Regions from separate parts of the Homo sapiens genome. Here regions 2, 3, 4, 5 and 6 are each linked to region 1. The links are contacts of gene promoters, found by promoter capture Hi-C in blood cells and fetal thymus (Javierre and others, 2016). All regions are on one chromosome and are shown on one strand. Each heading gives the region's core, a stretch centred on a gene start or on the middle of the fragment in contact. The rest is flanking DNA. Distances are from core to core; before and after follow the strand shown.

Region 1 (4,097 bases), core at 818-3,317:
TTTAAACATTAATTCTAGGTAAGTTTTCCCCAAATTATATGCCAAGACTAATCATCTCATTGGATGTCTGCTAAAAAAAAAAAGGAAAAATTAATAAAAAAGATTCTGTTGTTATGTAAGTTGAGAAAAATCTTTTCATAATATACTTCTTTTGGAGATTTCCAGTCCACAATAGCCTTTTAAAGACTCTATGAAGTCCTATGGTTAATTTTTTAGAAGTATGTTCCTTTGTTTAAATAAGCATTTCTGAATTTATTTGGCACACAGTTCTGTTAATCCATAATACCTATTAACTTTAGAAAATTCTAGTTACTGTAAAGAAATGCACGTTTAAAAAGCCTGTAATATGTATAATGTAAGCCCAAATTACAAGAGAATTTAAAATTTTAAACAATAAAATATAAAAATAATTTAAAGTAAGTTACCCTTTATTTAATGCCTACTTTGTATCAGATACTAGAAATTCTAATCCATGTGTAACATTTTAAATCCTTGGATGATTCTCTTTTTATAGACAATGTAAGCCCCTCACAAGTGATAATACAGTCAGAGTCAATGAGTAAATTAGTAAAGCCCTAAAACAAACTCAGATCTGACATCAATGTCTGTGCTCAGTCCTGCAGAGAACACTACTTCAGCAAATCTTCAGCATTTCAACTACACTAAAATTAAAATGAATTTGTGAGATAGCTGGAGAACCACACACACAATTCATACTTCATATCACAATCCACTGAACAGAAAGTGGCTTCCATGCCACCACTTTTTATTATGTGCCACCTGAAACTTACCGGAAAAATATACTCATAAGCAAAGGGTATAGAAGTGGGTGTGTGGTCATGGGCAGAGAAGCCAGGAGCAGTGAAAAGGACAGGTTCTTAGCTGCAGCAGGTGGTCCCTGAGCCACCTATTTATAGTCGTTGCTCTATGAAAGAGCAAAGTTAATTTGGGGAAAAAGTCCTAGAGACTACCAAGCTATCACTGAAAGAAAAAGAAATGTTCATTAACTGCTAAAATTTTTAGTACAGCACATAAGAAACTTTACAGTGAAATCTAATTTCTGTCACTCATTTTAACCAAGAAAATGACGATTCTGTTACAATTTAAAATGTATCTAATGTGTAACTAAGTTTTCAAAATTTGACATTTGCCATGGTCTCTAAAGAGCTATATATAACCTCTGCTTCTGTGCTTTCCACTCTTGAAAAACTGTGAATAGGATGAACTTTAAAATAAGTATAAATGCTGAAATCTAAGTTCGATACGAAAAGGCTCAAGACGACATCTCAACATTTATTATGCTGACGTCCATTGAAACATAGATAACTATGTCAATGACGGTAGAGAAATATTTTTTGCACAATCCCACATTCTAGAAAGGAATACACGTGTCCCAATGCCTCCTGCTCTTGCAAAAGCCAGAAAAAAGTAGCATGGGAGGGAAGGGGAAGGCGAGATTCAGGGCTGCCAGTTCTTTTTGACAACTCCTTATGCACTAGCGGAGTGAGCCAGAGGACAGTGAAAGAGCACTAGGCGCTAGCAGTGATGACAAGCAAGTCTGGCACTGAACGCGCGCAGCGAACAGGAGTAGTAGACGCGCCGACTTACTCTGCACCTGCAGGTCCATCTCGCGCATTTCCGTGAAGCGGTCCCGCAGATCCATAGGAAGCTGCTCAATCACTGTCAAAGGGAGAGTCCGTCAGAGGGGCGGGGCCAACGGCGAAATACGCGCTTACGTCACTGCGCGCGTGCGTCAGGGGGGTCGAGGGGGCCGGCAGCCCACAACGAGGCTGCCAGTTACCGTGAGAAAGAAACATCCCCCGCCGCCCCCTCCCTCCCGCCATCTCGCTGCCCGTCCACTCGCGCTCTTGCCCGCCCGCACGTCCCACTGGCGGCCGCCGCCAGCGCCGCGCACTCACTTTCCAGATAGTCTTCTAGGTACAACATCGCGGCCCTTAGAGCTGAGGGAACAAGGGGGTCCAGGGGTTTATTTGTGTCACTCGCTGTCGCCGGAGTTTTGTCCCCTCCAATATGGCGCCTCCGCTAGCAGCACCCGCTCGACTCCGGCAAAAAAAAAAAAAGAAAAAAAAAAAAACCACTTTGGCGCCTGAGGCGCTTGCCTCACTGCCGCCCGGAGCTGCTATTGGTTGGTTCAAGCAATGACGTAGCCCGGCCGGTGTTCGCCCCCGTGCCTCTGTGGGAAATGTAGTTTTCTTCCTCCTCAGCGAGGGTTGGCGCGCTGGCGGCTCCCCTCGCAGAAACTACGAATACCGGGCGCCATTGCAAACAGTGCGTAACAGAATCCGAAATGCGGTGCCTCTGTTTATTTGTTGATTTTTGCACAGAGAATGGCGGGAGTTGTATGCACCTGCATAACACAACTAGGAACAACTTTTCACCTGTTCTTTGATGTGATTCCATGCCCCGGCGTTTGTGAGTTATGGGTTTCAAGAAGTGCCAGGCAAATAGCAAAGGTTCTAAACACTAGAATAATCAGCAAAGTTCGGGGAATTTGGATTGCTTAAAATAGAACTCTCTACTGGAATTTATCCTCATTATTCACTCTAAAATATAAAAGAGACACCTGGTTGGCTTACGTGTAATTTTAAAATAGTTTATACTGAGACTATGGAGTGAATATACATTTCCCAGATTAAAAGATGCACAAATAGTGTCAGTAGCCACTTATATATTCTAGTTTGCGGTCCATCTAATCGTCATTCTAATGTAATTGATCTATACATACAATCTGCATCCGCAAATAATAATAATAATAATCTTCATCATCACAGTGAGCAGCCATGAATTACGGATGCAGCCTTGATTTCTAATAGGCTGTTAATAGCAGTAACTTTATGTTGAGTAAATAGTCCATATTCGAGGTTGGTTGTCTTCGGCGTTCTTTAGTTTCTACTTTTCGACCTCTCCCAGCAAATGTTTTCCTGTGATATATTTAGTACGTCCCTACTCAGTTTCTTTTTAAATTGTTTTTTATTAAAAACTCTTGCACTCAATAAATGCTAGATATTGTTATTTTCCACTCTTCTTAACTTTTCGATTTTCTGGGGAAATTGTCATTAGTTCATAATTTATTGTTCATTTTCTGTTTTTCAAATTGCAGTTGAAACTGTGTGTGTGTGTTTCTTGCTTTCCTTCTCCATTACATACTCTTGTACTCAAGGTTTTCACTGCTCTTAAGCAGGAAACTTTCCTGTCGTGAATGATGAATCATGATGAATCTCAACGGAACCTTACTTCGATCCTAATAAGAATTAGAATTTTATAGTTTCTAGTTAAGTTTTTCATTACTTCCATCGAAAATCAAGTACTTTCGATCTTTTTCTCCCTTCTTTTTTTCCTCCTTTCTTCGTTTCCCATCCTTCCTTCTTCTGGCTGCTTTTAACATCTCTTTGACATCTTTTTGCAGTTTTGTAGTGATCTAAGTCTGAATTCCTTCCTTATTCCCTTTTCTTTCCTTAAAATTTTAAAATTATGCTTAGGATTTGAGGGGATTCCTGAATTTCAGGATTGGTGCCCTGCAACAATTCTAGAAAATTCTCAGCGTTTGTCTTTTCAGTATTGCTTATTTCTCATTTTTTCCATTAAGACTTTCTCTCTTTATTCTCTTATTTATCTTAATCTTTCTTTTATATGTTTTATTTTAGAATTTTCATAATTTTTCAGGTTTGGAAGTTCTATTCGGTTCTCTTTTCAAGACATCTTATAATTTCTTATACAAATTATTTAGTCTGTATCTTGTTTCTGTTAAACCTAATATTGAAACATTTATGGGCCTTTTAGTGCTATTTCTTCAGAAATGGGCACTTTTACTCATGGTGGCTTTTTCCTGTTGGGTTGCGATTTTGGACTCTGAATTCCTGTTTCTGGGATTACAAGCATAAGGATTCTTTGAGCTGGAGTTGAAATTGAGTTTTCATGGAGAGCATTAGAATTTGCTTGTCAGTTTGTTTGGAGACATCATAAACCCCTAGGACCAGATTAAATTGTCCCCTTGAGGTTTATTGTATTGCACAGATAGATTGAATTTGGGCCTCTATCCCAAATGGATTGTTACAGATTCTCAGAGGAGAATTTTT
Region 2 (4,097 bases), core at 1,056-3,555, 490 kb before region 1:
TATAGAATTGCGTTCTTCTGTATTCCGAATATAGAATTGCGTTCTTCTGTATTCCGAATATAGAATTGCGTTCTTCTGTATTCCGAATATAGAATTGCGTTCTTCTGTATTCCGAATATAGAATTGTGTTATTCTATATTCTCAATTGTATTCTATATTCCGAATATAGAATTTTTAATAGAGATGGGGTTTCTCCATGTCTGTATTAAATATATCTCTATTAAATATTAAATTTAATATTTAATATTTAATGTCTCCATGTCTCTATTAAATATTAAAAATTATATATTCAGAATCATATTCTATGTTCTGAATATAGAATATATGAAAATAAATATAGAAAACAATATGGATATAGAAAAACAGAAATAAAACATAATTCGGAGAAAGGTTGTCTATCAGAATTCACTCTCAGTATTGGCTGTGTTACACATACTTGGCCTTTCTATGGTGACTCAGCTACCTTCCTAATCAAGGCCTTTCAGGGGAGGGGCTGAGGAGTAAAAGCCTCTGCTGTCAATGCCCTACAGATCGTGAGGTGTTAAGAGGGTGGTTTCCTTCCTTGGCATCAATGCCTACAATCTAGGGCATCCACCTGCAGGCCTAGATGATTTGTGACCTCAGAATTGTTGTGGTTCCTGGACCTTTGTTGATGTAGTTTACCTTGCATCCCTCAGGCAAAACTAGAGGGGCTGGGCAAGGAAGGGAAGAAGGAGTCAGGCCTGCAGTAGCTTCTTGGGGTTTCTACCTCTGATCCTCCCTGCACAACTGTAATGTAACATGCTGGCTTCCAAAAGTGTAATTACTTATGTTTTTTTAACTACAATTATTCTCTTAAGAGCATCTATATAGAGGGGAAAAAGGAAAATTAACCAACCAAACTTAAGTTTTCCCTTGAATTACAAAAAAAAAAAAAAATTAATGATTATTCACTTTATAGAAGCAAAACTTTACTGTGTCTTAATATGACCAAATAAAAACTTAACCAAAAACAATAAAAATAAAAATAAAAATAAACCAGGGCCGGGCACAGTGGCTCACACCTGTAATCCTAGCACTTTGGGAGGCCAAGGTGGGTGGATCACCTGAGGTCGGGAGTTCCAGACCAGCCTGACCAACATGGAGAAACCCATCTCCACTAAAAATACAAAATTAGCCAGGTGTCGTGGCAGGCACCTGTAATCCCAGCTACTCAGGAGGCTGAAGCAGGAGAGTCACTTGAAACCAGGAAGCGGAGGTTGTGGTGAGCCGAGATCTCACCATTGCACTCCAGCCTAAGCAACAAGAGCGAAATTCCGTCAAAAACAAAACAAAACAAACAAAACAAAAAACAGTTCATTAATGACTGTACTACCAATAGATTCATTACCATGCTAGAAATGCTTCATTTACTCCCCATGGTAAGTGCTGTAGAACAACACTACACTATTAAAGAGACTGAAATTGCATTAATGCGGGCTAAGATACTAGTTAGCTCTTTTGGCAAATCACTGGATTTGTTTGTATTGAACTTACTGTGAACAAAATCCCTGGCTTTTTTCCCACATCTTAGGCCAGTCAACATGGCTCTTTCAAAACATACCTGAATATAATTGGTTTATTTGTGTACACTTTTTTTATTGGCTCCACACAAATGTGCTACCTAGGATGCTAGAAACAGGTGGGTTGTCTTTCCTGTGTCTGTATTTAGGCCTTTATAAATTTCTATATATGTAAACTGTCCTCTCCTTTTAATATCCATCTATCTCTCCCCACAGATGACTAATAGAAACCTTATCCACCTTCAGCTGAAAAGCTCCCTTCTCTCTTTTTCTTTATTTTACGATTTTGTGCAAAAGCCCATTACCCACCCCTTAAAACTCTCTGAAATTTTGATTCTACCCATCCCAAGCTCATCTCTCCCTATGCAAAATCCTTCCCTCTATGACTCTCTTTGGCAACAATGCATTTGTAGGAAGAAGACAAAATTCCTATTAAAAAAGATGACTCAAGCTTGCTTCCATAATATAGGTCAGCCATATCCTGATGATTTTGTTGTTTAGTTTCATTTAGTTAAATGTAGGTAGGCCCTAGAGCTCAGTTAGAATTGGAATGGTTGAGAGAATGAAGAAATAAAATTCTTTGCATAATTAAGAATTGTTAAAAAAAAATGTTCCCTTGGAAGACAAGGGAGACAAAGAATTGGGGATCCTAGGACTGGAAGAGAAGCTTTAGAAGAAAGATTTAAATAGAGGGCAAGAAAGCCCTGAGGGGAAAAAAAGAGAAAGTGAAAGTAAGAATACCCCTCTGATAAGGATATTTAGGGCACTTTAAAAAAAGTAATAGTGCTGAAGAGGTTGTTTATGAGTGCACCAACCAGCCACCTCTGTCCCTTTCCCGGATGATCCCGAAAATGAAGCTTCCTGGCCAGGAAAACAAAACGGCCGTGGTTGTGGGAACCATAACAGATGACGTGTGGGTTCAGGAGGTGCCCAAACTGAAGGTGTGTGCACTGGGCGTGACCAGCCGGGCCCGCAGCCACATCTTCAGGGTGGGGGGCAAGAACCTCACTTTCGACCAGCTGGCCCTGGACTCCCCCAAGGTCTGCGGCACCGTCCTGCTCTCAGGTCCTCGCAAGGGTCGAGAGGTGTACTGGCATTTCGACAAGGCCCTGGGAACCCCACACAGCCACACCAAACCCTACGTCCGCTCCAAGGGCCGGAAGTTCGAGTATGCCAGAGGCCAAGGGGCCAGCCAAGGCTACAAAAACTAACCCTGGATCCTACCTTCTTTTTTCTTTTTTTTTAATTTTTTATTATTATACTTTAAGTTCTAGGGTACATGTGCACAATGTGCAGGTTTGTTACATATGTATACATGTGCCATGTTGGTGTGCTGCACCCATTAATTCGTCATTTACATTAGGTATATCTCCTAATGATATCCCTCCCCCCTCCCCCCATCCCACGACAGGCCCCAGTGTGTGATGTTCCCCTTCCTGTGTCCAAGTGTTCTCATTGTTCCATTCCCACCTATGAGTGAGAACATGCGGTGTTTGGTTTTTTGTCCTTGCGACAGTTTGCTGAGAATGATGGTTTCCAGCTTCATCCATGTCCCTACAAAGGACATGAACTCATCATTTTTTATAGCTACATAGTATTCCATGGTGTGTATGTGCCACATTTTCTTAATCCAGTCTATCACTGATGGACTTTTGGGTTGGTTCCAGGTCTTTGCTATTGTGAATAGTGCCACAATAAACATACGTGTGCATGTGTCTTGATAGCAGCATGAGTTATAATCCTTTGGGTATATACCCAGTAATGGGATTGCTGGGTCAAATGGTATTTCTAGTTCTAGATTCTTGAGGAATCGCCATGCTGTCTTCCACAATGGTTGAACTAGTTTACAGTCCCACCAACAGTGTAAAAGTGTTCCTATTTCTCCACATCCTCTCCAGCACCTGTTTCCTGACTTTTTAATGATCGCCATTCTAATGGTGTGAGACGGTATCTCATTGTGGTTTTGATTTGCATTTCTCTGATGGCCAGTGATGATGAGCATTTTTTCAAGTGTCTGTTGGCTGTGTAAATGTCTTCTTTTGAGAAGTGTCTGTTCATATACTTCACCCACTTTTTGATGGGGTTGTTTTTTTCTTGTAAGTTTGTTTGAGTTCTTTGTAGATTCTGGATATTAGTCCTTTGTCAGATGAGTAGATTGCAAAAATTTTCTCCCATTCTGTAGATCGCCTGTTCACTCTGATGGTAGTTTCTTTTGCTGTGCAGAAGCTCTTTAGTTTAATTAGATCCCACTTGTCAATTTTGGATTTTGTTGCCATTGCTTTTGGTGTTTTAGACATGAAGTTCTTGCCTATGCCTATGTCCTGAATGGTATTGCCTAGGTTTTCTTCTAGGGTTTTTATGGTTTTAGGTCTAACATTTAAGTCTTTAATCCACCTCGAATTAATTTTTGTATAAGGTGTAAGGAAGGGATCCAGTTTCAGCTTTCTACACATGGCTAGCCAGTTTTCCCAGCACCATTTATTAAATAGGGAATCCTTTCCCCATTGCTTGTTTTTTTCAGGTTTGTCAAAGATCAGATGGTTGTAGATGTGTGGT
Region 3 (4,097 bases), core at 1,006-3,505, 460 kb before region 1:
AGCCTTATTCACACTTGTGAAAACTTGGAAGGCACCAAGATATCCTTTAGTGGCTAAATGAATAAATTAACTGTGATGTATCCAGACAATAGAATATTATTCAGTGCTAAGAAGAAATGAGATATTAAGCCATGAAAAGACATGGAAGAAATTTAAATATATATTAATAAGTGAAAGAAGTCAATCTGAAAAGGCTATATACTGTATAATTCCAACAATATGCCATTCTGGAAAAGACAAAACTATGGAAATAGTAAAAATGTCAGTGGTTGCCAGGAGTAATGGTGGAGAAGAGAATGAATAGGTGGAGCACAGAGGATTTTTAGAGCAATGGAACTGTTCTGTATGCTGCTATAATGGTGGATACATACTATACTTTTGTCAAAACCCATAGAATGTACAACAACAAGACTGAACCCAAATATTAACTATGTGTTTGGGGTGATGATGTATTATTGTAAATTCATCAATTATAACTGTATTGTGGGATGTTGATAATGAGGGATCTTGTGCATGTGTTGGGGATGGGGATATATGGGGACTCTGTATTTTCCTTTCAGTTTTACTATGAACCTAAAACAACTCTAAAAAACAAAGTCTATTAAAGATTGATTTTATTGTTTGTTTGTTTGTTTTTGTTTTTTGTTTTGTTTTGTTTTGAGATGGAGTCTCGCTCTGTCGCCCAGGCTGGAGTGCAATGGCATGATCTCAGCTCACTACAAGCTCCGTCTCCCGGGTTCACGCCATTCTCCTGCCTCAGCCTCCCGAGTAGCTGGGGCTGCAGGTGCCTGCCACCACGCTGGGCTAATTTTTTGGTATTTTTAGTAGAGACGAGGTTTCACCATGTTAGCCAGGATGGTCTTGATCTCCTGACCTCGTGATCCGCCCACCTCAGCCTCCCAAAGTGCTGGGATTACAGGGGTGAGCCACCGCACCCGGTCTAAAGATTGATTTTAAAAATTGAAAATGATACATTATATGATGTGTTGGTAAGCTAGAGGTTTACATTTCTCTAGGGAAGCTTGGAAATGAAATAGTGATAAATATATAGAAAACTAATCAATTTTTTTAAAAAAACTAGGAGGAAAATTTAAAAAGAAAGAAAATACATTTGGTTCAGATTCAAACATTGCTTACATACTCATAAATACTAAATACTGATTTAATTCCTTTTAGTATTGTGTTTTAATGTTTTACCTTGATAAATTGGGAAGATTGAAACTAAATGAAAAATACCACTGGTATAAGTACATCAGAAAGACATGTGGAAGCGAACTCATGTGTGTGTGTGTGTGTGTGTGTGTGTGTGTGTGTGTGTGTGTTCAGGATGGCTTCTAGTTGATAATACCAGAAGAAAAATTGCTAAAAGCATTGAAAAATCTAATAATTAGTGATCACAATATTTTTTGAGAAAAATGATTATTGTGTTTATTATAATTGAATTATAATAGATTTGTCAAAAAGGTTTTCTAACAAAATGAAAGCAGAAGATTATGGGCTAAGCAGCCTAAATCTAGCTAAAGTGGGCACTATGAACTCAGCTGTAGGTACTGAGAGCAATAGCAAGCAAAGACACTATGGATCTGTATTTTTCAAGAACAGGAATGTTTCTAGAAGGAAAGATTAAAAAAAATTGCAACAGACTGAATATGTCCCCTCAAGTTCCCATATGTTGTAAACCTAACCTGCAGTGAGATAGTATTAGAAGGAGGGACTTGGGAAGTAGTTAGGTCATGAGAATGTAGCTGTTGTAAATGAGATTAGTGCCCTTATAAAAGAGGCCCTAGGGAACGCTCTCATCTTCTTCTCTATATGTGAGGATACAAGGAGAAGTTGGCAGTTTGCAACCCAGAAGAAGACCCTCAACAGAACCTGACACCACTGGTACCTTAATCTCAGACTTCTAGCCTCCAGAGAAATAAACATCTGTTGTGTATAATCCACCCTGTCTATGATACTCTGTTGTAGCAACCTTAGCATACTAACAAATAGTAGCCACAAATTTGAGAAGTCACTGGACTAAAGCCTGAGGTGAGGAAGGCCTAGCTGCTGATAAACTCTATGAAAAGTAGACCTTGACTATAGGTTGGAAGAGTTTTTCTAACATGAAAAGTTTGACATTGAGATACTTGACATAAATATCAGGATTTCTCTATGAAATGAAACTTTAATGGTTATTAAGGTGTGATGGGTTAATGTGATGGGTTCATGATGACTCTTTCAAAGATACATCCACATCGTAATCCCCAGACTCTGTGACTGTTGCCTTATTTCTAAAAAGGGTATTTGCAGATGTAATTAAATTAAGGACTTTGAGATGAGGAGATGATCCTGGATTACCTTGTAAATCCAGTTGTAAATGTCCTTACAAGAAGCACACAGATGAGAAGGCAAACACAGAGAAGAGGCAATGGGAAGACAGAGACAGAGGTTGGAGTGATGTGGCCATAAGCCAAGGGAGCCAAGGAATGCCCCCAGTCACCTGGAGCTGAAAGAAGTAAGGAAACATTCTCTCCTAGAGCCCCAAGAGGGCCCAAGCCTGTCAATACATTGACTTCAGACTTCTGCCCTCCAGAGGGAAGAAACCTTTGTATTCAGCCACTAAGTTCACAGTGCTTTGTTACAGAAGCCACCTGAATCTATTAATAAGGCATTTTATATATATATATATATATATATGTATATATATATATAAAATGTAGGGCAAAAAATAAATATTAGGCATAGGAGGCAATGCACACACACACACACACAAATTAGGATGGGCAGTGGGGATGCAGGCTATGACTATGTCTGTGATATTCCTTCAAACTCTTTAAAATAGATGGTAAGGTAGCTTTTAGTCTTCCTTTGTGACTCCTGCTATACTTTTCCTTTCAGGCAAAAAGAAAAGAGATAGAGATAGAGATAAATATAGATATAGAATGGATATAAATAAATTTATATCAGCATCGATTACATTTACACAGGTTGATTCTTAACTTTTTTGGAGATATCTAATTAAAACACCTCACCACCATACTGCTATTTTCCATCTATTTTGATGTGAATTTGCTCTTTTGTGTATAATATGGTTAAAACAAATCTGACAAATTACTTTAAATGACACTTTAGTGGTGATATTTCTCAGCACATATTTGTATTTTATTAAGGGACTACTGGAAACAATACAAAAAAAAGGTTAATTGCTTATTTTGGAGTTTTTCTTGGATTTCAACTTTAAAGAACAGAAATTCAGGTCAGCAGGGACAGTGCCATCCTCAGGTTTCGATAAAGTGGAGGTCATCATTCCAATTTCCCTGCTGCAGTTTGTGTTTAAAAAAAAGATATGTGTGTGTGTGTGCGTGTGTCTGTGTGTGTCTGTATGTGTTGAAATATTTTATCAGTGAACTGAAATTTATTACTAAAAGGAAACTGTAGGTGTTATTAACCTCTCTTTCCCCCCTTCTTTTTTTATTTCTTCCATATGGAAGCAGAAAACAAAGCTTATAAAAATCATAACTTCAAGCAATTCCAATAAATTAGCATAGTTTATAGCAGAGTAAACCTTCTGATTGGTTATATACTTTAAACTTAATTTCATTTTTCCTCATAAGAAGACACGAGCTATGAGATAACAATTCTTTTTTCTGTTTGTTACTAAAATCTAATGTTTTGTGATATTATAAAATCCCTCTCCATTTTGATTTCTGAGGGTTAAAAAGATATATTGTGTTAGCTTAATCCATTGCCTTTCAAAAAATTATAACTGTGTAAACCAAGAGTAGAATTAGAGTCCAGAAGATGATATAAATTTGTATTTACTCTTCCCTTAATACACGCTTAGGCCAATGACAAGTTCACCTTCCTTCAGGACCCAGAAGACTCTTTCCCTGAGCCACCCTTCCTCCTTCATTTTCAATTAGATCTCTTCCATGTATGGGTCTTGATCTCTATTTCTGAACTTGCAAAGTTTAGCAAAGCCTCCTACCCTGGAACCTACCATTTTGGGACCCACTTTACCCTCAGTTCTTCCCAGTTTTAATGTAAGCTCTTTGAGGACATAGACTTTTCGTATTTCTCTCTAAATCCCCAAATCTCAGAACTGTACCTGGCAC
Region 4 (4,097 bases), core at 352-2,851, 440 kb before region 1:
CATACAGTATCTTACAGAGTACCAGCAGATCTCTATTGAATTTAGAAAATAAAAGTTAATCACTTACTGAAAGCCATTTAACAAGAAATTGGCAGAATCAGCAAATCAGCATCCGGTTTTGGTCACTTCATCGACCTGTACCTCTTTCTAGAGGCTACTAGTAGTCTCTTGTGTTTCTTGGCTGTTTACCAATAAAGTCACAAGGTTTTCAGTTTTATACAGGTATTAGAAGCTTTGTTTCACAGATTCTTGTAATGTTTTCTCAACTCAATAAAGACTAGCATTTCTTCATAGGAAGAAATAAGAAGAGTTGGAGCCAATAAAAGGAGTTCAGTCCAGCAGTTCTCAACCTGAGGACCTCTCTGAATTACCAATGGGAACTTTGTAAGAGGGACACAGGACAGGTTCCTCAAAATCCTCATTGTAAGGGGCTTCTGTTTCAAAAGGGAGTAAAAATAAGACACTACTGGCTTAAAGTGACTTTAAAAATAAACTTAATGGATGTTTTATTACAATTACAGATTTTTAATGTGGATTGCTGCCTTAAGCATTGTCAACTAATCTTTCATAATTTATGAAGATACATTAAAAAGGAAAAGGAAATTGGAAAAGACAGCCAAAAGGCTAAGAGGCTATGGAATGGCAAAAAGTAATGTTCCCTGAGGGGGTATCAGAAGACTCATATATTTTCCACCATATATTTTAGGTTTTGAACGATTCATTTTTCAAAAATTTTTATACTCTTAAAAATACTGGAGTGCCTACCATGTACCAGTAATTGTAGATATCATGGATACTATGAATAAGACAGCCTGGGCACTCACAAAGCTACTTTATTTTCTCTAAAGCAGGGAATCTTTTTTATTTTTATTTTTATGCCCATTTCTTAAAGCTGAAAGGTGCAAGACCCAAATAGCAAAAGATTTTTATGTTAGCGCTGAGCTAGATAGATTTTTGTGCGACCTTGGTATAATAGCAAAAGTTTGTCTTGAATTTAGTCCAGAAGCGTCTCTGTTCTTGGGATCAGATGATCAGGATTTGAAGCATTGATTCTGTATTTAGTTATTTCAAGAGTGGCATTGACTAAATTACTTAATATCATGCAGTCCTTTTTAATCTGATTGAGTAGACTGAACCAGGTAATTTCCCAAAATCTTTGAACTTTTAAAAGGTTTTGTACTTTCTTTTAATGCAATTCTTTGAGACACAATCGGCTGACTTCCTCTCAGAGGAGGAAATTAAGTGTTGTAATACCCCTAAGTCTTTCCAGTGTACCCATTAATATTCTTTTTCTTCTTCATTGGCCTGCTCCATTTGATTGAAGCTATTCTTATATTTCCCTTATTTTTAATCTAATTTTGAAAATCCGCTATTCATGATTTTTCTAACTTCAGTGAGTTTTTTCTTCCAATTTTCTTTTTTAAATTAAATTCCTGTAACAGAATTTTTCATTTTATTTTTAAATTATTTACAAAGACAGGGTACCCCACTGTTCTGCAGACTGGAGTGCAGTGGTGTGATCATAACTCACTGTAGCCTTGAACTCCACCTTAGCCTGTGGAGTAGCTAGGTTTACAGGCATGTGCCACCACACACGACTAATTTTATAATTTTTTTTCTTAAAAGACGGGATCTTACTATTTTGCACAGGCTGGCCAAATCTGCCCTCAGGTGATCCTTCGACCTCAGCCTCCCAAAGCTCTGGGATTACAGACATGAGCCCCTATGCCTAGCCAGATTTTCCATTTTAAAGTGTGGCATTTAGCACGTTCATGATGTTATGAACCGTCACGTTTCTAAAACATTTTCATCACCCCAAAAGGAAACCCCATATTCATTAAGCAGTTGTTCATTCCCTTCTCCCTGCCAATCCTCGGCAACCACTGATCTGCTTTCTGCCCCCATAAATTTATCTATTCTGGATTTTCCTAAAAATTGAATAATTCAATATGTGTTCTTTTGTGTCTGGCTTCTTTCACTTAGCATGTTTTAGAGGTTCGTCCTCTAAATCAGCAGGTATCAGTACTTCATTCCTTTTTAAGGGTGAGTAATATTCCATTCTATATTCCATTCATATACACCACATTACATATATATCATTTCGTTGATACGTACTGCATTTTGTTTATTCATTTGTTAAATTTTTGTGTGCTATTCAGAAAGTTATATGAACATCTCTAAATTGATTTTCGTCATAATCTCTACAAGGCTTGCTAAGGTAGTGTTATGGTGTCAGGTGTGCTACCTAACATATCATTCATTACTTGCAGTTAAGTGATTGTTAAATGAGTTTTGAAAGACGCAAGGTCAACAAAAATGGATTTTTAAGTTGGTTCAGTTGATACGTGGTGTGGTTTGGTTCTGCGTCCCCACTCAAATCTCATCTCAAATTGTAATCCCTGTGTGTCGAGGGAGGGAAGTGATTGCATCATGAGGGCGGCTTCCCCCATGTTGTTCTCGTGACAGTGAGTTCTTACAAGATCTGATGGTTTTACAAATGGAAGTTTTTCCTGCACTCTCTCTCTTCTCTCTCCTGCTGCCTTGTGAAAAAGGTGTCTGTTTCCCCTTAGCCTTCCTCCATGATTGTAAGTTTCCTGACACCTCCCCAGCCATGTGGGACTGTGAGTCAGTTAAACTTCTTTCCTTTATAGGTTACCCAGTCTTGGGTATTTCTTTATAACAGTGCAAAAACGGACTAATACAATACGTTTTCACAAAATTTTACAATAGAAGCATCTTTAGAGTTTATTTGAACAAACAATTCATGAATTGAGCAGCTCCAAACCAGATCTGGGAGCTCCACCAGGGGAATCCAGGAGGGAGGCTTTTATAGGAGGGTCACAGATGTAAAGCAAAGAAAATATTTGATTGGCTGCAGTTATACAGTTGTTTTATTTGGTCTGTCGTGTTGGAAGGTCCCCTAGATATGTAATTAGAAGTTTGTTGGATGTTTCTGATTGATTAAGCTTAAGTTCTCTTTTTCTTTAGCATAGGCATTTATAAGAAGTAACTTCATATTTTGCTTATGTTTGCAAATCAAGTGAGGTTGATGTCACTTATGAGGCCTAATTGGTTTTGTCTGCTCGGGGATTCTTCAGGCATGGTTTCCATTTTAATTTACTTCAGCAGTGCTAATTCTCATTCAGTTTTTGTGGTACAAATGGTGTGCCAATACTGCATTTCATCCAGGACCCTTGGGCGATGGAACCATTCTGTTTCTCCATGTCTTCATTTGGAGGGTGTGACTGATGGAATTATGTCTACCCTGGTGCACTTAAATTCTGCAGACTACTTCAAAACAGCATAAGTAGAGTGGATACCTAAGGGAATTCTTAAACACGTAGAACAGGAACCTATAACTTCTCATCTAGTACAATGTGAGATAGTTACATGAGATGAAGATAGCAGTTCTACTGTATGTAAATGTGTACCTTTCTCTAATCTCATTTTAGCAGTTTATGAGTGGGACACTTCATTACCCCATTTATGTTCAACCTCTAACAGTTAATATATTTCATTTTATTGTTGTCATTGTTTCTAAGAATAGCTATTTCTTTCTGTCCATCCATTCATTCATCTATCCATCTCTCCCTGGATGGTGTACTATAGGATTAAGGTAGCTTAGATCACAAGTGTTTAAACAATTGTAGAACTCATAGCAGGCAAAACTGAATGTCATTTTGTAGAGTTCTGTCTTGTTTTCTGTTTTGGGTATGTTTGTGGTCTTGGTTGCAGAAATCCAGTCACCATTTCATTTCGTTAAGTGGATTATAACTTTTTAAGCAAAATTCTGCTTTGGTAGATAATAAAAACTGCAAGAAAACATTTGAGTAATATTAAATCTAGTACTCTGGTTTAACCCCTGCAAACAGGAGTTCTTGATTATTTATTCCTCACCACATTTTCTCTGGATTTATCTGTTGCCCACCAAAACTGAAGACCCATTCTGGTGGCAGGTTGACTGTTCCAGAAAGAATGAAAAATCTTGTCATGTGAATTTTACTTTTGAACTTTTTTGGTTTAGATCTGCCTTACCTTCCCCCCCCCCCCCCCCCCCGCCCCACACAGCCTTTCCTGTGTGTGTGGATTGGTGTGCT
Region 5 (4,097 bases), core at 506-3,005, 420 kb before region 1:
TGCTCTGTCGCCCAGGCTGGAGAGCAGTGGCACAATCTCGGCTCACCACAAGCTCCACCTCGCGGGTTCACGCCATTCTCCCTGCCCACCACCACGCCCGGCTAATTTTTTTTTTTTGTATTTGTAGTAGAGATGGGGTTTCACCGTGTTAGCCAGGATGGTCTCGATCTCCTGACCTCATGATCCACCCGCCTCAGCCTCTCAAAGTGCTGGGATTACAGGCGTGAGCCACTGCACCCGGCCATAAATACTTAATGTTCTATTGAATTTATTTATTTTTACCTTTTCAGATTTAAACCATTGGTATATAGTATATACATAAATTACTTGAGACATTATTAACAACTAAAGTGCAAAATAGTTCTGATTCATTAGCCCGACTTACTGAAGGACATTCATTGATGAAATGCAATAACAAATGTTTATTATTGTTCCATGAAATGAAGTGTATATGCAGAAAGAAATTAAGCATTGAAGCTATCAGTGTAGTTTGAGGGGAAAATAGTTGTAGGAGAGGAGGGATTTTGGTGTTTGTATGTTGTACCTGTATTCTATACTTGGACAGCTGTTTATGAAAACTAATGTACCTGTTTGGCCACCAGGTGCTAATGTTTTCAGAATTGCAGACTTAGTACAGGGCTTTTGATTTTGATGTGTATTGGATAAAAATGAGCTTTCTTCTGGAAAGAAAAGTCTTTCACAGGAGTTTCTTCACCTTAAAGTATCTACTCCCCTTACTGTTACACAAATTAAATGGAGGTGATGTTATTTACTTAAAATCCTGATTTTAAGTAGTTAAAATCCTGACTTTAAGTACTTAAAATACTTAAAAAACTGATTTTCCCAAAATTATATCCCAGTAAAGTGTAGATAAGGTTTCTTTTCTGCTTTGTTCTGGGCATTAAGCTTTTTCAATGTTATTATATTACCTTTATGGCTTTAATGGTGCATAATATTCTACTGAGTGTTCTATTGAGTTAATGAGCTTTTATTTACTTGGTCATTTTCCTCTTTTTAAACATTTCAATACAATCTTTTAACTTTCAGCTTACTAGTTGGAGTATTGGACCTACAGGAAGTTCACAATTATCTAAAATAGTACAGAACTAAAAACTGTGTGACTATTTATAGCAAGACAGCTGGTTAACATTTATCACACTGCATACTTATTAGTCAAATCAGGAAATGGCTGTCCACAATACTCTGATGATCTGAGTTATAATCTCCTGGGCTGGGATCAGATGTTAGTGCTTTTAAAAAGCCCTACTATAATTATGATAGATGGTCAGGTTGAGAACTACTACATTCAAATTAAGATTTGACCTCATGGATTCCTTGAACTGATAAATTGTAAATCTTTTAGTAATGATCTTCCTCATCCCCCTCCCTGGCCCTCGCAATCTCCTAACCTCACCACTAAGATAGATTCATGTATATTCTCTGGGGCTTTCTTTGCGTATCTGTACAACACCATACAGCAGCAACAACTTTTAAACACCATCATATTCACCAAATTTATATTTATAAACATTGAAAGGTAAGTTTGTAGAGTAACTTCCTGATTGAAATTTAAATATATAGTAACTAAAATTCAAAACAAAATGGTAAGGGAAAAATAAAATGTTTTATCAGTAGTAAAATACTATCCTCCATAATTATTTAATAGTTTATAATGAATGTACAGTGTGAAGTTACTTTCTCACTTTTTCTTAAGTGATATTCATGTTTTATTGTATACTGAATCATTATTTGAACACTTATTTTTGTGGACCTAAATATATTTTAAAAGTGGATACTTGCCAATAGACTCATTCCTTCTAACAAAAGTAATTTTTTTTTTTCAGCAAGATCAGCATTGGACACAGCTGCACGTTGTAAGTATTTCATCTCAATATTTTATGTATGATTTATTCTGCCTTAGGCATATGAGAGCTTATATTCAAAGTGTCAGTAGTTCAGTATGAGGAAAAACTGCTTTAGAAATTGCTTTTTAAAGTTATGAGGATGCTATTTGATTGGACAGCCCAAATATTTTTGGCAATTATTCATGATGGATATTTTGTGTTTTTTAGCTCCGTTATTATAAGTACAGAAATTGGTGTGAGAAGGAGTTAAGAGTGTACATGGGCAAGGTAGTCAATGGAACATTAGGCCTTTTTTAATTATCCTGGAGGTGACGATTTTTTGTGCATATATGGACTAGAAGTGCAAAGTAACATTCAGAACCCCCCACATCCTAAAATTTAAAAATAAACTCATAGTTAGATAAAATATATTTGCCCTAATGCAGATCATATTACTTGACTCATTTGCATCCATTATTAGTTTGTTTCCTAGGAAGATCTGGTGTCTGTTGTGGGTTTCTTTGTTGCTGTTTTTTTTTAAAAAAATTTTTTGAGGTTCTTTGAAACCCTCAGGGGAACAAATTAGCTTGTATTTTAAGATACGTGTATCTTGATGTTTTTCTTAATGCTCTTTGTGGTTTGAGATTTGAAGTAAAGTGAGGTAAAGTCTGTTAACTTGTTTTCTAAAAAAAGACATCATGTTTTCTCCCCCAAAGCTACAAAGCCTCCCAGATATAAGTGTGGGATCTCAAAAGCTTGCCCTGAGAAGCATTTTGCTTTTAAAATGGCAAGTGGAGCAGCCAACGTGGTGGGACCCAAAATCTGCCTGGAAGATAATGTGTAAGTCTTTGTTGACTTGAGACGATAAGGTGTGCTATTAAATTGCAGCCAATTGAACCTGAGTTTAATGGATATTTTGAAAATGTGTTCGGTATACTTTATTAATGGAAAGTGATTTCCATTTTTGTTATGTAGTTTTTTTCTCATGAATTCAAGGGACCTTAAAGTTCTTAAATTTTATATTAGAGAGTGACTAAGAACGTAACACTTATTCGGCTTTATAGAGATAAGAGATTTCCTCTGAGTAAATTCTCTAGATCTGCACTGTCCCATTTGCTAGCAACAGAACACATGTGGCTATTTAATTTTGATCCTTAAATATTAGGAAGAAAGTTAATTCACTTAAATTAACTAAAAAGTTCAGTTCCTTGGTATCTGTCACCGCAGTTCAGGTGTTCAGTGGCCACATGTGGTTCATGGTCACCAAATGGAACAGCAGAGAGAGCATTTTCATCGTGGCAGAAATCCTATTTGCAACATTGCCCTGGACAATGAATGTGTTCTCTTTATTTTAAATGAAATCCAACGTCTTTCATTTAAAATATTTGAGTGCTACTTGTTGAAGTGTGAAATGATCCAGTGATAACCTCAGTTCCATTGCAGCACAAACTGCTTGCCTCTAAGCTGAATGGTTTCCTATGTTGAGATGCTTTCTAAAGGATGGTTTTTAGGATTTTTGATATCCTACCTCAGTGTCAACTGTTGCTCGCAAGTTCCTGCTGCTGAAATTGCAAATCCTACTTTTAGTTGGTTGCTTTTAATATGCTATTGCCTAGAAAACTAGACATGGGGGCTTATTTAAATTTAATATAAAATAATAAATTTGTCACGAATTATATAGAATAAAGAGATAATTTTATAGCAAAGAGGAGACCTAGGCAGCTTTTCCTAGCTGTTTATGTGCCTCTTCTTTTTAATATTGAAGCTCTTAAATTTTTATCCTAGCCTCTTTTGCAGGCAGTTAGCTGTAAGAAGTTTATTGAGCTTCATGGGACAACACTTTTCTTGTAAAATTAAGGGCTTGAGCTAGATGATCATTAAGGTCTGTACTGATTTCCTTTATTTTCCCGTATTCTAATGATGATTTATTGTTAATCCATTTGTCTTCTGATTTCTCATTAGAATAGTCCTGTTTTACTGATGCATAATAAGGCACTTGCATTTTAGAAGTTTGTAGGTTTTTGAAAACATTCTCATTTCCACTCTTTATCTTGTTTGGTTAAATAGACCCCAAATTTGATTCTAAATCACAGGAACAAAGTTCTTTTAGAATACCTAACCCATGGATGATTTTGGACATCTATTCTGCCCCCTTGATGCATGTGAATTTTAGTTCAGAGAAGAAGAGATCAGACTGTTTACTAGCAGGTTTTTTATTCACAGATTAAAACCGTAAACAACAAAACACACTCA
Region 6 (4,097 bases), core at 1,260-3,759, 400 kb before region 1:
CCCTCTCCTTCCCACTAGTTCCCCTTTATTTCCCTTTCTTTCCTTATTGCTTTTTAATGCTCACAGGATCTTCTTGTCATCCCTTCAAGGATTTTGGTAGGAATTCACATTAGTTTTATTGGACCATTATTTCTAAAATTTTGTTGCCTTTTTTGAAAACAGGGATAATGTCTTAGCATCTCCCATTTTCCATGAGGCTTCTAAAATAACTGACACTACCTTGATGATTATTTCAACAAGTTCCTTTACAATCTAAAAGTGTGAAGTGGGGGAGGGGGTTTACAGGACTGGAGGCTTAAATTTACTTTAGAGCACTTACATGGACTTCTTGAGCTACTATTCCCTTTTTATGTTGATCAAAGAATGTTTGCCTCCCTGTAAAAGATAGTCATGCTTTGGTTGGATGATATATCATTCTCATGAAACAGTGAGTCCCTTTGTTATTCACACTTAGTAGCAAAAGCTGTTTCTGTGGCTTTTAATAATTTTATGAGTTTCATCTCATTCTGAGCACTACAGGTCTTCCTGGTTAGTAGTATTAAAAATTTTGTCATTAGTAATGTGGTTTGCTTTGTATTTTTGCACACTTCCTTTCTTAAGTTTGAGTCCATCATAAAACATCCCTATGATAGCACTAATTTAGAAACTATGCTCCATTTTTTTCTGGAAGTGTTAGCAATTATATAGTGAAAATTATAGAGTTTTTCTGTTTGTTTGTAAAGAGTCGTATTCCCTCATAAAAATTTCTAATCCGAACTTTGTATAATATGTTCTCTTTAAAGTCTAGGCTGGGTCGTCATTTATGCCTTATATAGTTAGCATTTCTTACTCTTCAACGCCCTGAGGTAATATGGCGATTTTCTTCCAGACTTTCTCCTTCCCAGCTTGTTCTTCCCTATTAATCAGAATTGAGCCATTAATATTGTCCGTCTTGCTTTCTGTGCTTCCAGAAAGGCAGCATTGGCTTGGTTTGATGGTGCAACTGTAGGACTATCCGATGTGCCTCCTTTCCCAGCAAGGATTGAGGCAGAACCCACAGATTCCTGTGTCCAGTTCCCACTTCCTCCCTTTCTAGTTTAGATTGCCTCTGGGCAGCATTAGATTGTCTTCTAGCAAAACCTGATACCGTTCTCTGTCTATCCTGGTTTATCACAGGATAATTTTCTGTTCATTTTGAAGAAAATTATTCACTAAAATAATATATTTGACATAAATTTTTAACTCAGCTAGTTAAGACCATTAGTAAGGATTAAAATATATGTAACAAACTCAGAGTGCCCTATGTGGAATAAAAAGCTTGTATCTCCAACCTTTATGCTATATAAAAATATATTTGCTGCCCTGGCTTTTTTAAAAAAGGGGCATTTTGACATTTCCTGTATATTCAATTAAATACTGGCTATGTTACATGATTTTAAACTTTTGAAATATAAAGATTTTTTTTACTTAGTTACACAGAAGATATCTAAAAATAATAATAAAATAATCAACCAAATTCTACATAGGCAGATCAGAAAGTGTTAGAAGTCATTGACAAAGTCATCTTGTTATAAAACTGTAGTTAGATATACACAGGGCTATGTGTTAGACGTCCCCCAAACCACTCCCAGTTTTGACAGTTCTCCAGTAGGTCTCATGGTTGTGATTTGTTAAAGCAAAAATACACAAAGCAAAATGAGCAAAGGGAAAAGGTTCATGGGACAAAGTCTGGAGGGACAAAGGAGTCTTCTCCCAAGTGGAGTCAAACAGGACATGCTTAATTCTTCCAGCAACCAGTTAGGACAACACATGGGAAATGTTGTCTGCAAGGAAGCTTATTAGGGACTCAATGCCCAGAGATTTTATTAGGGGCTGGTCATGTAGGCACCCTCTGCCTAACCTGTTGCAAAATACCAGACTCCCAGAGAGAAAACAAGTGTTCAGCATAAATTGCATTGTTTTTGCCCACAGTTTAGACACAATGAACCATTCTTATCAGTTTTGAAAATGATAGGAGCCCTCCGCAAATCCAAGTGGCCAGATAGCCAAGGGTCAGTCTTGCTAGTAGGCCTTTCTAAGCTCAGGCCTGCTATGTTAATGCATATCTGCACAGGATCTCAGTATCTTCTAATGGAAAAGCAAGGAATAAGATTAATGGAGTTAAAACATAAAGCTCAATCTTTAAGTTTCTCCTTGATCTCTGGCTTGATTGTAAATCAGCTTGGTTTATTCATACAGATCATAATGGTCACTTCTGAAATTCAGGAGTACAAAAATAAGAATGCCTGACTGCCCTTCAACATATTTCTTAGTTGGTGCAAAATTCTTGGATAAGATTTTACTTTTGGCAGGGAGCTGGACCTGCGTTTGGATAACCTTCTATTTTGCAGGGAATTTTTCCTGTGTAAAGCAATCTCTTAACATTTGTGAACTTCACATTCATCATTTCAGCTGTTTATGAGCCACCCTAAAGGCCTGTGAGGTATCAATTCATAATTTTTTTGAGATGTAAATGTGAATGGAACCCCAAAGCCTCTCTGCAGGAGGCAGTCCATTTAGCTGACCACTGAGCCTACTGCCTGTGCTCTAGACATTTCAATACTATTTATTCTTGTTACAGCAGCAAAACTCATCGCTAGTGCTGATGATGCAAGTGTAGACTTCCATAAGGTAGTTAGAAAATAGAACATTTGGATAAACTACGCAAGTGGAATTTGACAGCCTTTTAGATCCATGGCATCCCAATAACATTTGGAAACAAGAAAACAAGGTTCAGGTGATAATTTTGGGGCATTTCCCTCTAGCACCAAAGTTGGTTATCAAGTGAGCAAACAAGTGGAAAGTGATGGATAATTCATGTAAGGATGGGCACAGGAAACGAAGCTGCAGAGGAACTGTGGAGGGAAAGCCAGTGCATATGCACAGATTTCATGTGAAGGCCTCACAATCTTCACAGAGGCTGAGATTGGTTCTTCTGCACAGTCATTTCACTTCTTTTTAGTTCACTTGGCTATAAATGTACCACTTAATATAGGAGGCGAATCTGAAAGGCTAAATGCTCCACAGGCTATGGCTTATTTTCTTGCTGATTCTAGTGAACTTCCTCCAGGTGGACAGCAGTGCCCAGGCTGTGGCCAAAACAGCTCCACAGCCCCCACGGATGTGGTGGGCATCAATCATGAAAGTTTAATGATATATGTAGTTCTTTCCTGTTTTATGAAGCTTTTTTAAAAAAACCATAAGAGTATCCCTTTTTCTTTAGTTAAATGAGAACTGTTCTATGTAGTGTTTCTTTCACTAAGATATTAAAGGAGCTACTTGATACTAGCATGAGAGGTTTGAAAGAACACTGTAGAATGAATAAGTACCTTCCTCACTGACTTTCCTGCTGTTTGGAAATATAAACTTGCCTTGCCTCAGGTTTTAGCAGAACAAACCTCTCTAAGTGACCTGTTAGAGCTGTCTTTTGCGCAGTATATAGGACTCAATGCCAAATATGTGTACAAGTAGCCCTTAATTTTTTCTTCTTCTTCTTTTTTTAAGCTCTATAGCTACCATTTATGTTCTGAGTTTCTTTTCTCCTTAGAGATAAAGGAGAGAAAATCATTGACCATTAGGATGATCACTTACACAAAATTTTTTAGGGACATCTTTCAATTAGTAGTTTCCCTGGTGGTTGACTTCTGTCACTGCTCCACCTCCTGCTAGTAGGCATTTAGCTGCTGTGTGGTTAATATTTTCATTTTTATTAAGTAACCACTTGGCAGTTATCACTGAAGTACAATTTATATATCTGTTCTCAAAATTCATTTTCTTTTAAATAAAACATAGTGTTAGAAACATACAGATTTTTGTCAGCATTTACCTTTATTCTGGTCAAATGTAATTTACAGAGGGTTTAGTGGAGATTCAAAAAGATTAATTTTATAAAAATATTGATTGCTTAAGACCTTGGATAGCCTGGATAGGCATCTACTAACTGTGGTATCCCTTATTTATTTGATGAGTGTAATTTAAAAAGTTAAATGAAGGTGAATTGTTGTGAAATAAAAACCTAACAGGTCCTTTTAATAGAATAAACTTAAAATTAATTGTTGGAGTTCATGTCTTTTGTCACT

Evidence for each region. Contacts are between HindIII fragments. The CHiCAGO score rates a contact against its expected background, and 5 or more counts as called.
Region 2: a contact is called between a fragment that was not itself captured here and the fragment with the promoter of ING3 in region 1, in 8 of 17 cell types (non-activated CD4 T cells, activated CD4 T cells, total CD8 T cells and 5 more). The highest score is 14.7, in non-activated CD4 T cells.
Region 3: a fragment that was not itself captured here is called in contact with the fragment with the promoter of ING3 in region 1 in 1 of 17 cell types (non-activated CD4 T cells); the score reaches 6.7 in non-activated CD4 T cells.
Region 4: a fragment that was not itself captured here is called in contact with the fragment with the promoter of ING3 in region 1 in 9 of 17 cell types (naive CD8 T cells, total CD4 T cells, total CD8 T cells and 6 more); the score reaches 17.4 in naive CD8 T cells.
Region 5: a fragment that was not itself captured here is called in contact with the fragment with the promoter of ING3 in region 1 in 2 of 17 cell types (activated CD4 T cells and naive B cells); the score reaches 5.1 in activated CD4 T cells.
Region 6: a fragment that was not itself captured here is called in contact with the fragment with the promoter of ING3 in region 1 in 4 of 17 cell types (naive B cells, naive CD8 T cells, total B cells and 1 more); the score reaches 7.8 in naive B cells.

What each region holds. Positions count from the first base shown.
Region 1 is chr7:120,948,747-120,952,843 of GRCh38, reverse strand. It overlaps ING3 (inhibitor of growth family member 3), which reads right to left and starts at 2,067. Exons shown (of 12, transcript NM_019071.3): 1 at 1,920-2,067; 2 at 1,609-1,680. The coding sequence starts at 1,947. RefSeq lists an enhancer at 1,445-1,524. The HindIII fragment of the contact is 9,487 bases long and covers 1-4,097 here.
Region 2 is chr7:121,439,489-121,443,585 of GRCh38, reverse strand. It overlaps the pseudogene RPL18P4. Among named protein-coding and RNA genes, the nearest start is that of FAM3C, 45 kb to the right of the region's middle. The HindIII fragment of the contact is 190 bases long and covers 2,211-2,400 here.
Region 3 is chr7:121,412,279-121,416,375 of GRCh38, reverse strand. No RefSeq gene overlaps it. Among named protein-coding and RNA genes, the nearest start is that of FAM3C, 18 kb to the right of the region's middle. The HindIII fragment of the contact is 2,464 bases long and covers 1,024-3,487 here.
Region 4 is chr7:121,390,814-121,394,910 of GRCh38, reverse strand. All of the region lies in intron 1 of FAM3C (FAM3 metabolism regulating signaling molecule C), which reads left to right. Among named protein-coding and RNA genes, the nearest start is that of FAM3C, 3.4 kb to the left of the region's middle. The HindIII fragment of the contact is 2,734 bases long and covers 235-2,968 here.
Region 5 is chr7:121,369,887-121,373,983 of GRCh38, reverse strand. FAM3C (FAM3 metabolism regulating signaling molecule C) reads left to right here. Exons shown (of 10, transcript NM_014888.3): 4 at 1,845-1,874; 5 at 2,561-2,684. Among named protein-coding and RNA genes, the nearest start is that of FAM3C, 24 kb to the left of the region's middle. RefSeq lists an enhancer at 1,007-1,056. The HindIII fragment of the contact is 1,693 bases long and covers 909-2,601 here.
Region 6 is chr7:121,351,438-121,355,534 of GRCh38, reverse strand. All of the region lies in intron 8 of FAM3C (FAM3 metabolism regulating signaling molecule C), which reads left to right. Among named protein-coding and RNA genes, the nearest start is that of WNT16, 24 kb to the right of the region's middle. The HindIII fragment of the contact is 1,388 bases long and covers 1,816-3,203 here.